Regions from separate parts of the Homo sapiens genome. Here region 2 is linked to region 1. The links are contacts of gene promoters, found by promoter capture Hi-C in human tissues and cell types (Jung and others, 2019). All regions are on one chromosome and are shown on one strand. Each heading gives the region's core, a stretch centred on a gene start or on the middle of the fragment in contact. The rest is flanking DNA. Distances are from core to core; before and after follow the strand shown.

Region 1 (6,733 bases), core at 428-2,927:
TTGATCTAACAAGTTTGCAAACATATTGTTTGTGCAGTTAATGCAGGGAAGTGTCTAAAATATGTGGTTCTGCTAAGTAAATGGTTCTCAAACAGCCTTCCCTCTTCCTGCTCATAAGGTTGAGTGATGAGAATCTTTTTCTACTTTGCAAACAGACTAATATAATTCTTACTGAGTTTTCCTCCCATCTTTCTTTACCCTTTGATATGACTGCCTTCAGCAGATGGTAAAAATATATGAAAAAGTAATGAACAAACATTGAAAGCCTGGAGATGTGATTTTCCTTTAAATAGTTTATGCATTATTTTTGAGATGGAGATTTTCATATTATCTATTAATATCTTTTTAAAGCACCACCATTTCCAAGTGTTTACTATATTTCAAAATCACTCTACTAAGTGTCTTTAAACTTTTCTCACATAATCTTAATTTAAGCGCATATAAATGCAGAGGCCCTCATCACTTACTCTGGATGTTCTATAGATCCAAACAGAATGGGAAAGTTCTCTGATTTTTTAATCATTTATTCAGCAAATATTTGATTGTTTTCTATGTGTCAGGCACTGTGCTGGGCACAGAAGATCCCATAGTGAAGAAAACAAAACCAAAGAAAAACACAATCTGTGTTTGGAGGCCAATGATAGAGTCAGAAATCAATTAAATATATAAATACACTAGTCCCCACTTATCCAAAGTTTCACTTTCCTTGGTTTCCATTACACATTGTAATGTCTCCTCAACTCTTGACTCAGGCATGACTTGAACATTTCACTAGTTACTAAGCGAAAATTAGTGGTATACTATAAGTATTGTTTTTATCCCTCTGGTGCCTAGCGGAGCATCTGGCACATGGCTTACTAATTGCTCGTTAGTTTAGTTATTGACTAATGGAGAGACAGAAACACATGTGGTAGTTTTTAATGGCCCACTAGGATAAATAACAAACTAAATTGAGATAATAGATAATAATCTATGAGTTCAAGATTGAGAAAGATCAACATGGGTTTGTATTTTAGAATTGAAATAACCTCCTACATCATCAAATTCTTTTCATAAGTAAATTGAAGTTGGAATGGTTCAGTTACTTGGCTGGGCTTAAACAGTCATTGGTAGCAGAATTGCCTTTTCAACCATTTTTATTTTTCTGGAAAGGCTTTGCAGCAGGGCTGAGAGTTTATATGATCTGTGGATGTATAGTTTTGGATAAGTAGAGAAGACAGCATTCCAGACCTAGGGTCTGAGTTAACTGCAAAGTCAATGTGAATAATATGGCTTCTGAAGATAATGAGGAACATTTCATTGAGGAACCTTTCATGGTCAAGTGTGTCTGCAAGGGTGTGAGAATTGCATGGTGTGACTGTTCTATGGAATAATCAATGAACTCTGTTGCCTTTTGACTTCTTTTTACTTTTTCTTTTTTTCGAAATACCTTGTAGCAGAATGGTAAGAGCACAGTTTCTGGAGCTAGAATGCCTGGTAGCCTTGGGAAGTTACTTAATCTGTGCCTCAATTTTCTGATCTGTAAAATGTGAATAATATTGTGCATATCCTCATATTTCTGGTTCCTTAAGAAGGCCCTCATATTTACTACTGTAAATTGAATTGTAGCTCTGTAGCATAGAAGAATAATTTTGTAAATTATTATACATCAATTAGCCACCTCGATATATTTAAGGTCCTAACCATCAGCCATGATTCCACAATCTAAGGAAAACACCCACTCTTTAGCTGAGCCAATGTTTCTGTTCCATCCTACGAGGTAGAGTTTTATGATTTGATTATTCCAGAAGAGCTCTGTAATTATTGTTTCAGATGTAGAGAATCAGGTTGGCTGTAGCCCTTTAACAACCCTATCTTGAGGAGCTTGCTTGGTCAGGTCTATAAGTATAAACAATAAAACTATCAAAAGTTCTGTGTTTGTATGGGCAGAGACAATTTGAGATGAGGCTCTCATTCTGCAGAGAGTCTGAGAGGGAAAGAGAAAAGGAAGGAGTGAGGGTGTTATCTGGGGCATACCAATGAAATTTGACTTCTTAAAAACCCAGCTGTGAGATTAAGTCAAAATCTGCTTGTTACAGATTAAACTTGAAAAAATAAGTCGTGGAACTTTTAAATTTGTTGCTTTTTTAGACCTTTTTTTATTGATTTATTAAGGAAATATATTTTTGTTGCCAACAGTGCATAAAACTATATAGGATTAAAAACAAAATATTCAAAGGCAAGGGTTTATAATTCAGTAGGAAAGCAATAAAGAGGCAGCCAATTACCACAATTCAAGGTAGCTGTGTATGTTTAATCAGGAGAAGAGTTCAGGAGGCACATTCAGGAGGAAGAAGCATGTTTAGCAGGGCAGAACATCCTTTTAAGGAGGGGATACTATTTGAGTTGGACTTTGAAAGGTAGGTGGGATTCAGATAATTATGTTGGGAGAGAGGGCATTCTTGGTAGAGAAAAAAAGTCCTGGGGATGGAAACTGAGATTAGTGAGGGATAGTGGACGATGAGCCTGAAAGGGTGGTTGAAGAGGCTCTAGAGGGCCTGCTCTCTGTAAGCAGGCAAGTGATCCAGACAGAGCTGGGTGTTAAACATGGAAGGTGAGGAGGGGGAGGATGGGTTTGCAGGATGATTCAGGAATCAGCAGAACCAAGTCTTTGGCATCGTGAAATATCTTATTGGAAGAGGCTGAGCCAGAGGTACCAGGACTTAATCCAGGTAGGTGGCAGTAGGAAGGGGCCACCTGGGCTGAATGCAGAAAGGTGTGGCTGAGTGCACTGACCTGGTTTGCAGAATAAGGAGCAGCTGGTGACTGGCAGTGACATGGGCAGTGAGTAGGTAGGAGAGGGAAAGCCCAAGTTGCCTGCAGGACTCACAGCCAGAGTTTCTGGTTGAGTGATGGTCTTACGGGACTAATTTAAGAGATAGAGACTGAGTTCATATTATCAGGTCTCAATATTTATATTTAAATTTTGACATAGATGTGCGTGTGTGTGTGTGTGTGTGTAGAATATTTTAAAAGATGAATTTAAAGAAGTGCTAGTAGTTTAACATTATGGGCATTCCAAAAGAGAAAAAGTTAATTGTAAATCCCATCATGTTGACTGATTCTTGTATACTGATTTCTCATCATATCTACTTATGTGTTTATAGTTATATTCATTGTGTGTATAGGATTTTTTTTCTTTTATCTTCTCTTTTCTTTTCCTTTTCCTTTCTTTTTTTCTGCAGGGTTTCACTGTCACCCAGGCTAGAGCTCAGTGATGCAATCACGCAATCACAGCTCACTGCAGCCTTGACCTCCAGGTCTCAGGTGATCCTCCAACCTCAGCCTACTGGGTGCGCCACTATGCTCAACCAATTTTTGTATTTCTTTTGTAGAGACAAGGTTTTGCCATGTTTCCCAGGCTGGTCTCGAACTCCTGTGTTCAAACAATCTATCTGCCTTGGCCTCCCGAAGTGCTAGGATTATAGGTGTGAGCCACTGCAGCCAACCTATTTCTTGCTTTATACTTTAAATCATAAGCATTTTCCACATGGTTCTCTCTATATATCTATATATATGTAGTCCTTTAAGTACAGTTTTAATGTTAGCATAATTAAGAATTTTTTATTTTTATTTTTCTATTATTTCCATTGTATTTATTGCCAATACAGAATACTTCCTGTATGTTCTGGATGAAAGAGAAATCTGTAGGCTGCCCTAAGCAACTATCTGTAATTTATATCTTTACTTCTATGAGAAAATGCATCCTGCATTCTACTGAAATTTTAGGCTAGAGTCTATTTCTAAAACATGAACTACTTGTACAATGGAACAAAAAAATAAGTCTTTTCCACTCAACCTTTGGGTGCAAGTTCTAATACACTTGCTGGTCTTCATGTCTAATATACTTGCTAGAAGGACATCGACTCAGCCCTTCCACAGTAATTTCTTTTTCCCATCTTAATCACATATTATCATCCAGCAGTAATCAACACGTAACTGACCAATCCAGTTTGTTCTCCATAAGGGTTGGAATTAGTAGATCTCATCTTGACCAACTAAATTGCCTTGCCATATAAACACAGCTGAATCTCCTAGAATTCACTTGAAATAGTAAAGCAAGTTCATATTCTAAAATAAATATGGTTGAGACTATGCCTCATGTATCGGAAACCACCCCAAAATGCAGTAGGCAGTTCAGGCTGGGCTCGGCTGTCCTGTTCTTTTGCTGATCCCAGCTGTGCTTGCTCATACATCTTCGGTCAGTTGGTGGCTTGGCTGGGGCTGGCTGACTTACAATTGCTGCATCAGGTCCAGGTGGGAAGATTGGTACCTCTTTCTATAAGGTCTTTCATTTTCTAGCATGGCAGGTTATCTACATGGTGGCAGTGGCAGGGAAAATTGAGGAACTCAGAGGCCCCAAGTGTTTTGGGGGTTTGGTTTGTTTGCTTGCTGATGTCCCATTGGTCATTTCAAGCTAATGGTCACTCCACACCTCATATTTAAAAGGTGGGGAAATAGATTCTGTTTCTTGATGGGGATATCTACAGGGGTAATTAAGAATTTTAGAACAAGAAATGTTTAGCTGTTTACCATATTACAGCCTTAGTGAGGTTGATGTGATTTTCATGGAATTGAACAAAAGAAATTATTTGGTCTAATATGTCAATATTTATTTGTGATGTTTAGAAACTGAAATTAAGGATTACAACCTGGGGAAAATGTTGACTCTAGAAATAGATTTGTGAGTCCTCTAGTTAGAGATGACAGTTATAAGACTTGGCCAGGGGAGAAGGTTTAGAAGGGAGAAGAAAATATAAATAATGAACAGATTATTTGTTCAAGTGAATTAGCTAAATTAATTATAACTAATATTTATATATTTTTTCTGTGACTATCACTGTTACAGTATTTCCTAGAATTCAGTGCTAAGGGCATATCTGATGAATATCAATAACTTATTTCTAGTGGCAATCAATAAAGGCCAGAAAAGAACCCGTGACATGACCATAAACCAATGAGGAATTTGAAAGATTTTCCACCTTGAGTATTTAGGAGCTCTAGCAAAATCTGTTGACTAAAAAATCTCTCAGAATAGCTGTTTGCCAGAAATTTGGCAAGTTGAGCCAGAGAGTGATTTGGTTGATAACCTGCTAATAGTGGTAGATGTTTTATGAAATAAAATAACAATGCATTTTCTTAGGGTCAAAAATAAAGATTGAGGTTGTAGCCCAGCTACTTGTTGTGACCTCTAATCCACAGTCTCTGAAGCAAAGGGAAGGATCAGTGGCTCATCCTAGTTCTTCTCTGGAAGTCCTAGATTCTAGCTGTCAGCCTTTTGGAGTTGGAACAGTGTTGTAGAGCAGGGGCTTCCAATCTTTTAGCTTCCCTGAGCCACATCGGAAGAAGAATTGTCTCAGGCCACACATAAAATACACTAACACTACCGATAGCTGATGAGCTTAAAAAAAAATTGCAAAACAAACTTATAATGTTTTAAGAAAGTTTACGAATTTGTGTTGGGCCACATTCAAAGCTGTCCTGGCCTACATGTGCCCCGTGGGCCGCAGGGTTGGACAAGCTTGTTGGTAGAAGTTCTGAGTTATGTCTACAAGGCATGTGGGACAGAAATGAATGAAACAGTAGTTCTCAGGTGGGAGCAATTTTGTCCTCAGGGGACGTTTAGCAATTCCTGGAGGCATCTTCACTTGTCACAACTGGCAGTGGGAAGGAGGAGCTGGGGGAATGGGGGTATTGCCACTGCCATCTATTGGGTAGAAGCCAAGGATGCTGCTACATATCCTACAATGAGCAGGACAGTCCTGCCGACAAAAGGAATTATTTTGTCTAACATGCGAATAGTGCTGAGATTGAAAAACCTTGATCAAAGTAAGAAAAAAGGTTTGTCTTTGTCATCAACATTTTATTTTTTTAAAAAACTTCAATAGCTTTAGGGGTACAAGTGGCTTTTGGTTGCATGGACAAATTGTGTAGTGGTAAAGTATGAGATTTAGTGAACATGTCGCTTGGGGAGTGTACCTTGTACCTCATATATAGTTTTTTATCCCTCATCCTCCTCCCTCCCCCATTCTGAGTCTCCAGTGTCTATTATACCACTCTGTGACATCCATAATTTAAATTGAAGTAAGAAAATGTCCTCTGAAAATTCCTTGTTTACTCTGTGACTCCATCCCTCCCTCACTCCAAAGACAAACATTCTGCCATTTTGCGAACTTCAGAAGACTAAGTCTGCTTTGTTGTTTGTGCCTGAACCATGAGGGAAAAAAATCTCTGTTGACATTTCATGGTCGAGGTACACTTTCAGCAATGAACACTCCATTTGGCTGGGCATGTGGAAGGCAGCACACCCTTCACCCCATAGAAGGGCATTTGGTGTCTCAGTATTCCTGTGCTTGTCACTGAATTTTCTGTTCTTGCTGCCGAATTTGACAGTAAAAAAAGAACTGGAGTGTTTCTAAAGAGAAGGAATTATGCAATAATTTTTAACTTTATGAAGTTTAAAGCCAATCTACATGAGAGGCCAGAAGGAAATGTGTGTTAAGCAACAAAGCTAAATTCTCAGCCAGAGCCAGAGTCTGGCTTTGAAATGCGCCTGGCATTAAGGTTTTCACCATACACCAAGAGAGAAAAATGCAAGGCCTTCTGTGGGCTGTACTTTTTGGAGCCCTAACTAGCTTATTTTGTTTGGTTTGATTTATAAATAACATCTGATATTTTGAAAAATGAAACCACA
Region 2 (6,851 bases), core at 2,209-4,708, 120 kb after region 1:
CGAGAGAAGCACGGATTCTTCCCAGCAGTGTTCATCTGAGGATGAAGACATCTTTGAGGAAACCGCCCAGGTCAGCCCCCCGAGAGGCAAGGAGAAGAGACAGTGGCGGGCACGGATGCCCTTGCTCAGCGTCCAGCCTGTCAGCAACGCAGATTGGGTGTGGCTGGTCAAGAGGCTGCACAAGCTGTGCATGGAACTGTGCAACAACTACATCCAGATGCACTTGGACCTGGAGAACTGTATGGAGGAGCCTCCCATCTTCAAGGGCGACCCGTTCTTCATCCTGCCCTCCTTCCAGTCCGAGTCATCCACCCCATCCACCGGGGGCTTCTCTGGGAAAGAAACCCCTTCCGAGGATGACAGAAGCCAGTCCCGGGAGCACATGGGCGAGTCCCTGAGCCTGAAGGCCGGTGGTGGGGACCTGCTGCTGCCCCCCAGCCCCAAAGTGGAGAAGAAGGATCCCAGCCGGAAGAAGGAGTGGTGGGAGAATGCGGGGAACAAAATCTACACCATGGCAGCCGACAAGACCATTTCAAAGTTGATGACCGAATACAAAAAGAGGAAACAGCAGCACAACCTGTCCGCGTTCCCCAAAGAGGTCAAAGTGGAGAAGAAAGGAGAGCCACTGGGTCCCAGGGGCCAGGACTCCCCGCTGCTTCAGCGTCCCCAGCACTTGATGGACCAAGGGCAAATGCGGCATTCCTTCAGCGCAGGCCCCGAGCTGCTGCGACAGGACAAGAGGCCCCGCTCAGGCTCCACCGGGAGCTCCCTCAGTGTCTCGGTGAGAGACGCAGAAGCACAGATCCAGGTACATCCCTGTGGCCACAGCAGGTGGGCGGGAGGCTGGGTTTCCAGTACTGGATGGGCCCCCCCTTGCAGAGCAGGCATACACAGGCTAAGATTTATAGAAACAGGTAGGGGGTATGAACCGATTTCCCTCCAAAGTCAGAGGACTGCCTGAACCTAAGTGCAGGATCTCCCAGGATCAGTATGTCATTATGAAGCTGGAATTTTACTCTCAGGTAATTTCAGGAACTGTTTTTCTCCATAGTAATGTATATTATTGAGAATTAGGAACTTACCTGTATAAATAAGGTGAGGCTAAAGCTTATAACATGTAAGCTTTTTCAGTCTGGACAACACGGCAAAACCCATCATCTCTACAAAAAAAAAAAAAAAATTAGCTGGGAGAGGTGGCACATGCCTGTAATCCCAGCTACTTGGGAGGCTGAGCAAGGAGGATTGTGTGATCCCAGGAGGCAGAGGTTGCAGTGAGCTGAGATGGTGCCACTGCACTCCAGCTTGGATGACATAGAGAGACCCTGTCTTTAAAAACAAGTAAGCTTTGACTAGCATTGAGTTCTTAGTGTGTCATTCGAAAATGGCCCTGAAGAAATTCTGTAGTTATGAAGCATTATATAAAAGAAAAAAGCAAAGTAAATATTGTGTGGTTATGCCAATGAATTTTTTTCAAATTGTTTTCATCTCAAGTTTTTCTAGCCCATCCTGTGCACATAAAAATTCTCATTCTTCAGGGAGGCTTTGAGTGTAATTCTATGGTGCATCAAAAAATGAGTTTGAGATTAACGGCCTGTGGAGATCTCACTGTGAGAAGGCAAGGGAGGTTTGTTGTTGTTGTTGTTTTTAAATCTAAGGAATAAGTAAGAGTTTAGTAGTTTGTGAAAGCTGAAAATAAGGCGAGTCTCTGCCCATCTTTATGTATGTGAAGTTATGATGTAGGCATAATAAATTAATACGCCTACAATTTATTATAGGCATATTAAATGAGTGAAAACTAATTTATTGCAACTAAAGCCTGGAAAAAAACCATTTCCACATTGGCAGGGCCACTCTCAAGTGTTCAAATAAAACCAGGGGGGAAAGCCACTGATTTTCTTAAATCTTTTCTCTTAGGCATGGACCAACATGGTGCTAACAGTTCTCAATCAGATTCAGATTCTCCCAGACCAGACCTTCACGGCCCTCCAGCCCGCAGTGTTCCCGTGCATCAGTCAGCTGACCTGTCACGTGACCGACATCAGAGTTCGCCAGGCTGTGAGGGAGTGGCTGGGCAGGGTGGGCCGTGTCTATGACATCATTGTGTAGCCGACTCCTGTTCTACTCTCCCACCAAATAACAGTAGTGAGGGTTAGAGTCCTGCCAATACAGCTGTTGCATTTTCCCCACCACTAGCCCCACTTAAACTACTACTACTGTCTCAGAGAACAGTGTTTCCTAATGTAAAAAGCCTTTCCAACCACTGATCAGCATTGGGGCCATACTAAGGTTTGTATCTAGATGACACAAACGATATTCTGATTTTGCACATTATTATAGAAGAATCTATAATCCTTGATATGTTTCTAACTCTTGAAGTATATTTCCCAGTGCTTTTGCTTACAGTGTTGTCCCCAAATGGGTCATTTTCAAGGATTACTCATTTGAAAACACTATATTGATCCATTTGATCCATCATTTAAAAAATAAATACAATTCCTAAGGCAATATCTGCTGGTAAGTCAAGCTGATAAACACTCAGACATCTAGTACCAGGGATTATTAATTGGAGGAAGATTTATGGTTATGGGTCTGGCTGGGAAGAAGACAACTATAAATACATATTCTTGGGTGTCATAATCAAGAAAGAGGTGACTTCTGTTGTAAAATAATCCAGAACACTTCAAAATTATTCCTAAATCATTAAGATTTTCAGGTATTCACCAATTTCCCCATGTAAGGTACTGTGTTGTACCTTTATTTCTGTATTTCTAAAAGAAGAAAGTTCTTTCCTAGCAGGGTTTGAAGTCTGTGGCTTATCAGCCTGTGACACAGAGTACCCAGTGAAAGTGGCTGGTACGTAGATTGTCAAGAGACATAAGACCGACCAGCCACCCTGGCTGTTCTTGTGGTGTTTGTTTCCATCCCCAAGGCAAACAAGGAAAGGAAAGGAAAGAAGAAAAGGTGCCTTAGTCCTTTGTTGCACTTCCATTTCCATGCCCCACAATTGTCTGAACATAAGGTATAGCATTTGGTTTTTAAGAAAACAAAACATTAAGACGCAACTCATTTTATATCAACACGCTTGGAGGAAAGGGACTCAGGGAAGGGAGCAGGGAGTGTGGGGTGGGGATGGATTATGATGAAATCATTTTCAATCTTAAAATATAATACAACAATCTTGCAAAATTATGGTGTCAGTTACACAAGCTCTAGTCTCAAAATGAAAGTAATGGAGAAAGACACTGAAATTTAGAAAATTTTGTCGATTTAAAATATTTCTCCTATCTACCAAGTAAAGTTACCCTATGTTTGATGTCTTTGCATTCAGACCAATATTTCAGGTGGATATTTCTAAGTATTACTAGAAAATACGTTTGAAAGCTTTATCTTATTATTTACAGTATTTTTATATTTCTTACATTATCCTAATGATTGAAAACTCCTCAATCAAGCTTACTTACACACATTCTACAGAGTTATTTAAGGCATACATTATAATCTCCCAGCCCCATTCATAATGAATAAGTCACCCTTTAAATATAAGACACAAATTCTACAGTATTGAAATAAGGATTTAAAGGGGTATTTGTAAACTTTGCCCTCCTTGAGAAATATGGAACTACCTTAGAGGTTAAGAGGAAGGCAGTGTTCTGACTTCTTTAGGTGATCTGAAAAAAACACCCTTATCATCCAGTGTACCATCTAGAGATCACCACAGAATCCATTTTTTTCCCAGTTCCACAAAACACTCTGTTTGCCTTCAGTTTTTACTCACTAGACAATAATTCAAGTTTAGAAACAGGTAATCAGCTATTTGATCTTAAAAGGCAATGAATTGTTGGGATATCAGTGAACTATGTTGTATACTTTTGAATTTTTACATTTTATAAATGGAATTGAAAGTTGGATAACTGCTTTTTTTAAATTTTCCAACAGAAGTAACACCACAGTTGCTTTGTTTCTTTTTATAGCTTACCTGAGGTTCAGTTCTTCTTTGTGAACCTGTGAGTACTCCACAGTTTACTGGGGGAAAAGGCTTCAGTAAAGCAGAGGCTAGAATTACAGTATTTATACATAGCAACTTTTCATAAAGTAGAAAAATTCAAAGGAAGCTGTCTCAATTTGAGAATACCAGCTGGGCACGGTGGCTCACGCCTGTAATCCCAGCACTTACTTTGGGAGGCCAAGGTGGGCAGATAACCTGCGGTCAGGAGTTTGAGACCAGGCTGGACAACATGGTGAAACCTCGTCTCTACTAAAAATACAAAAATTAGCCAGGTGTGGTAGGATGCACCTGTAATCCCAGCTACTTAGGAGGCCGAGACAGGAGAATCGCTCGAACCCAGGAGGCGGACGTTGCAGTGAGCCAAGATTGCACCATTGCACTCCAGACTGGGTGACAAGAGTGAAACTCCATCTAAAAAAAAAAAAAAAAAAAAGTGAATACTGTATCCCAAAGTATGTTAGTTGTTTGTTTGGAAATCAGCATTCTCCCCGATGCTCTATTATGGGATCCAAAATTCTTGAACATAAGTTTACCCTGTACTGTGTCCAAACACTGTTCTAGTTCTAGCCTGATTATGGGTCCCAAGAATAAAAGGATGAGTAGGTGTACAGAGCTCTTGACCTACAATTTTTTAAGAGTGTTTTGGTACCTTCCCATTGTCTTCTCTATAACTCAGTCCTAACATACTCTGCACTCGAGTTACCAGCCATCCACACTGACATCAGATTTCAACCAGAACCATCACTGAGTGACAGCAGTACTTCTCAGAGGTATTTGCAGCTTGATGCAAAGTAGTCTCTAATGAGTAGGCATTCAGGTGGTTCTTCCCAGCAGGTGGAGAAGAAAGGGAGGAGATGAAGAACACTGAGAGGGGAGTGGCACCTTCCCAGGCTGCCCAGCTCAGTCTCTTGCCCTGTTCCTGTGACTCAGCTGCCCACTCCCCCAACTTTGTTTCCCTCCCTCCCAGTCTCTGAAAGTGTCAGGTGTTTCTCTCCTCACAGTCTCTTTTGCAGCAACAGTAAGACAAAATTCAAGGCAGCCTTTTAAAGTTACGAACAGTTATTAGCATGTATTTACAGACCTAAGCAGAATGAGAGTTTATACATTGTTTTTAGTTGCCTGTATTTATAGCCAAAAGTATATTACCTTAAAGTTGAGATCTTTCTCTTCTTTTCCTAAATTTTGGTAAAGTGTGCTTCATGAAACAAACATCTGGAAAACTCCAAGTATAAGAGACCCTGGACTGATGATGGCCCAGCCAAGTATATGGAGGGACAGAGTTCTCTCTGTCATTAATGAGGACATCGGTTTTCACAATTGAACCTCATGCACTGTCCACAGCATCTCACCTAGCTCCTGTATCTCCTGATCTGCTTTTAAAAATAGTTAGTTAGGCTGCCTTTTTACACCACCTTCTCTCTCTCCCCTTGTGGTAATTTTCCAGCCTTCCCCATAGATATAAAACTAGAACACCTTTATGATTTGGGGTCTATGTAATGACTGACCGATAAGAACCCAGGCAGATGCTAACATACTTAACAGCTCGCATTAAAATACTTTAAATCAGGCGTGATGGCTCATTCCTGTAATCTCAAGCACTTTGGGAGGCTAAGGTGGGTGGATCTCTTGAGGTCAGGAGTTCGAGACCAACCTGGCCAACGTGGTGAAACCCCGTCTCTACTAAAAATACAAAATTAGCCGGGCATGGTGGCAGCTGCCTGTAATCCCAGCTACTCGGGAAGCTGAGGCAGGAGAATTGCTTGAACCTGGGAGGTGGGGATTGCAGTCAGCCAAGATTGTTCTGCAGCATGGGTGACAAAGTGAGACTTCGTCTCAAGTAAATAAAACTAAAATTTTTAAATCAAACATGACAAAAATGTTAATATAATTCAGAAGTACCTTGAAATTGAAACATATTTGTGCAATGATCATTAGGCTTTTTGTCCTTGTTGTTTTAAAATGAGGCTTATACAGAGTGAGTTGAGAGTCAAGTAGCCTTCGCTGTGAGACGGTAATGCAGTTATATAATAGATACCCTTGACTTTGCCAGATTCATCACAATACTGCTTATACAGGAAAGTTTTCTCAGAAAGGAAAATCCATTAGTATCAGTCCCATCAAGCCAAACAGAATGAAGACCTTTGATAGTAATAGCAAGAGGTTACAAATAGCAGGGAGGAGGCGAGTAGTGAATGTCACTGTGATTGCAAACCCTTACCTGTATTATCACACGTAGTCCTCACAACAACCTTGTGAGACAAGTGTTGTGTTCCTCATTTTTTCAGAGGGGAACACAGACCCAGAGAGGTTAAGAAATTTGCCCAAGATAACAAGTAAAAGGCAAAGTTGGTTGCAAAAGAGGTGTTTCTGAATTCAAGGGCCATACTCTCTCTCTGACAACATGCTCTAAGTCCATAGAGTAAGCACTCTAGTATGAAAAAAAGTTTCAAGGAACGAGGCCATGAAAATGAGACTATTTGACATCTCAGATCTGTCTGGGATGTTATGGAGGTTTTTAAAAATAAAGTTGAAAAAAGAAAATGAATCATGTTTATACATAAAAAAATCACATGTAACACATTTCAAGTGTTTGAAAATAAAACCAAAATCTAAACTTTAGTCTTCAAGCAGACATTCAGTGTTACTTTAGAAAACTCACTGAATTAGGTGGAAATGATGGAATAATACTATTCATGGCCAGCTATTAACACAGAAGAACATGGCAGTGTGTGTCTGGAACGGCATGCACAATTTGTAAACCTTTTTCAAATATCATTTAATCAACTCAGAATAAAGTGCCCTGTAGCCAACAGTGCCTCTTTACTTGCTTCTCTGGGAAATACAT

Evidence for each region. Contacts are between HindIII fragments. The study calls those that stand out against the background at their distance.
Region 2: a contact is called between a fragment that was not itself captured here and the fragment with the promoter of PBOV1 in region 1, in 2 of the 25 tissues and cell types used here (H1 embryonic stem cells and aorta).

The regions. Positions count from the first base shown.
Region 1 is chr6:138,216,814-138,223,546 of GRCh38, forward strand. PBOV1 (prostate and breast cancer overexpressed 1) reads right to left here and starts at 1,678. Exons shown (of 1, transcript NM_021635.3): 1 at 1-1,678. The coding sequence starts at 1,582. The coding sequence ends at 1,175. The region is part of intron 4 of ARFGEF3 (ARFGEF family member 3); the gene reads left to right. The HindIII fragment of the contact is 10,102 bases long and covers 1-6,733 here.
Region 2 is chr6:138,334,381-138,341,231 of GRCh38, forward strand. It overlaps ARFGEF3 (ARFGEF family member 3), which reads left to right. Exons shown (of 34, transcript NM_020340.5): 33 at 1-808; 34 at 1,915-6,851. The coding sequence ends at 2,106. Among named protein-coding and RNA genes, the nearest start is that of SMIM28, 40 kb to the right of the region's middle. RefSeq lists enhancers at 1-603, 604-1,205. The HindIII fragment of the contact is 4,689 bases long and covers 1,115-5,803 here.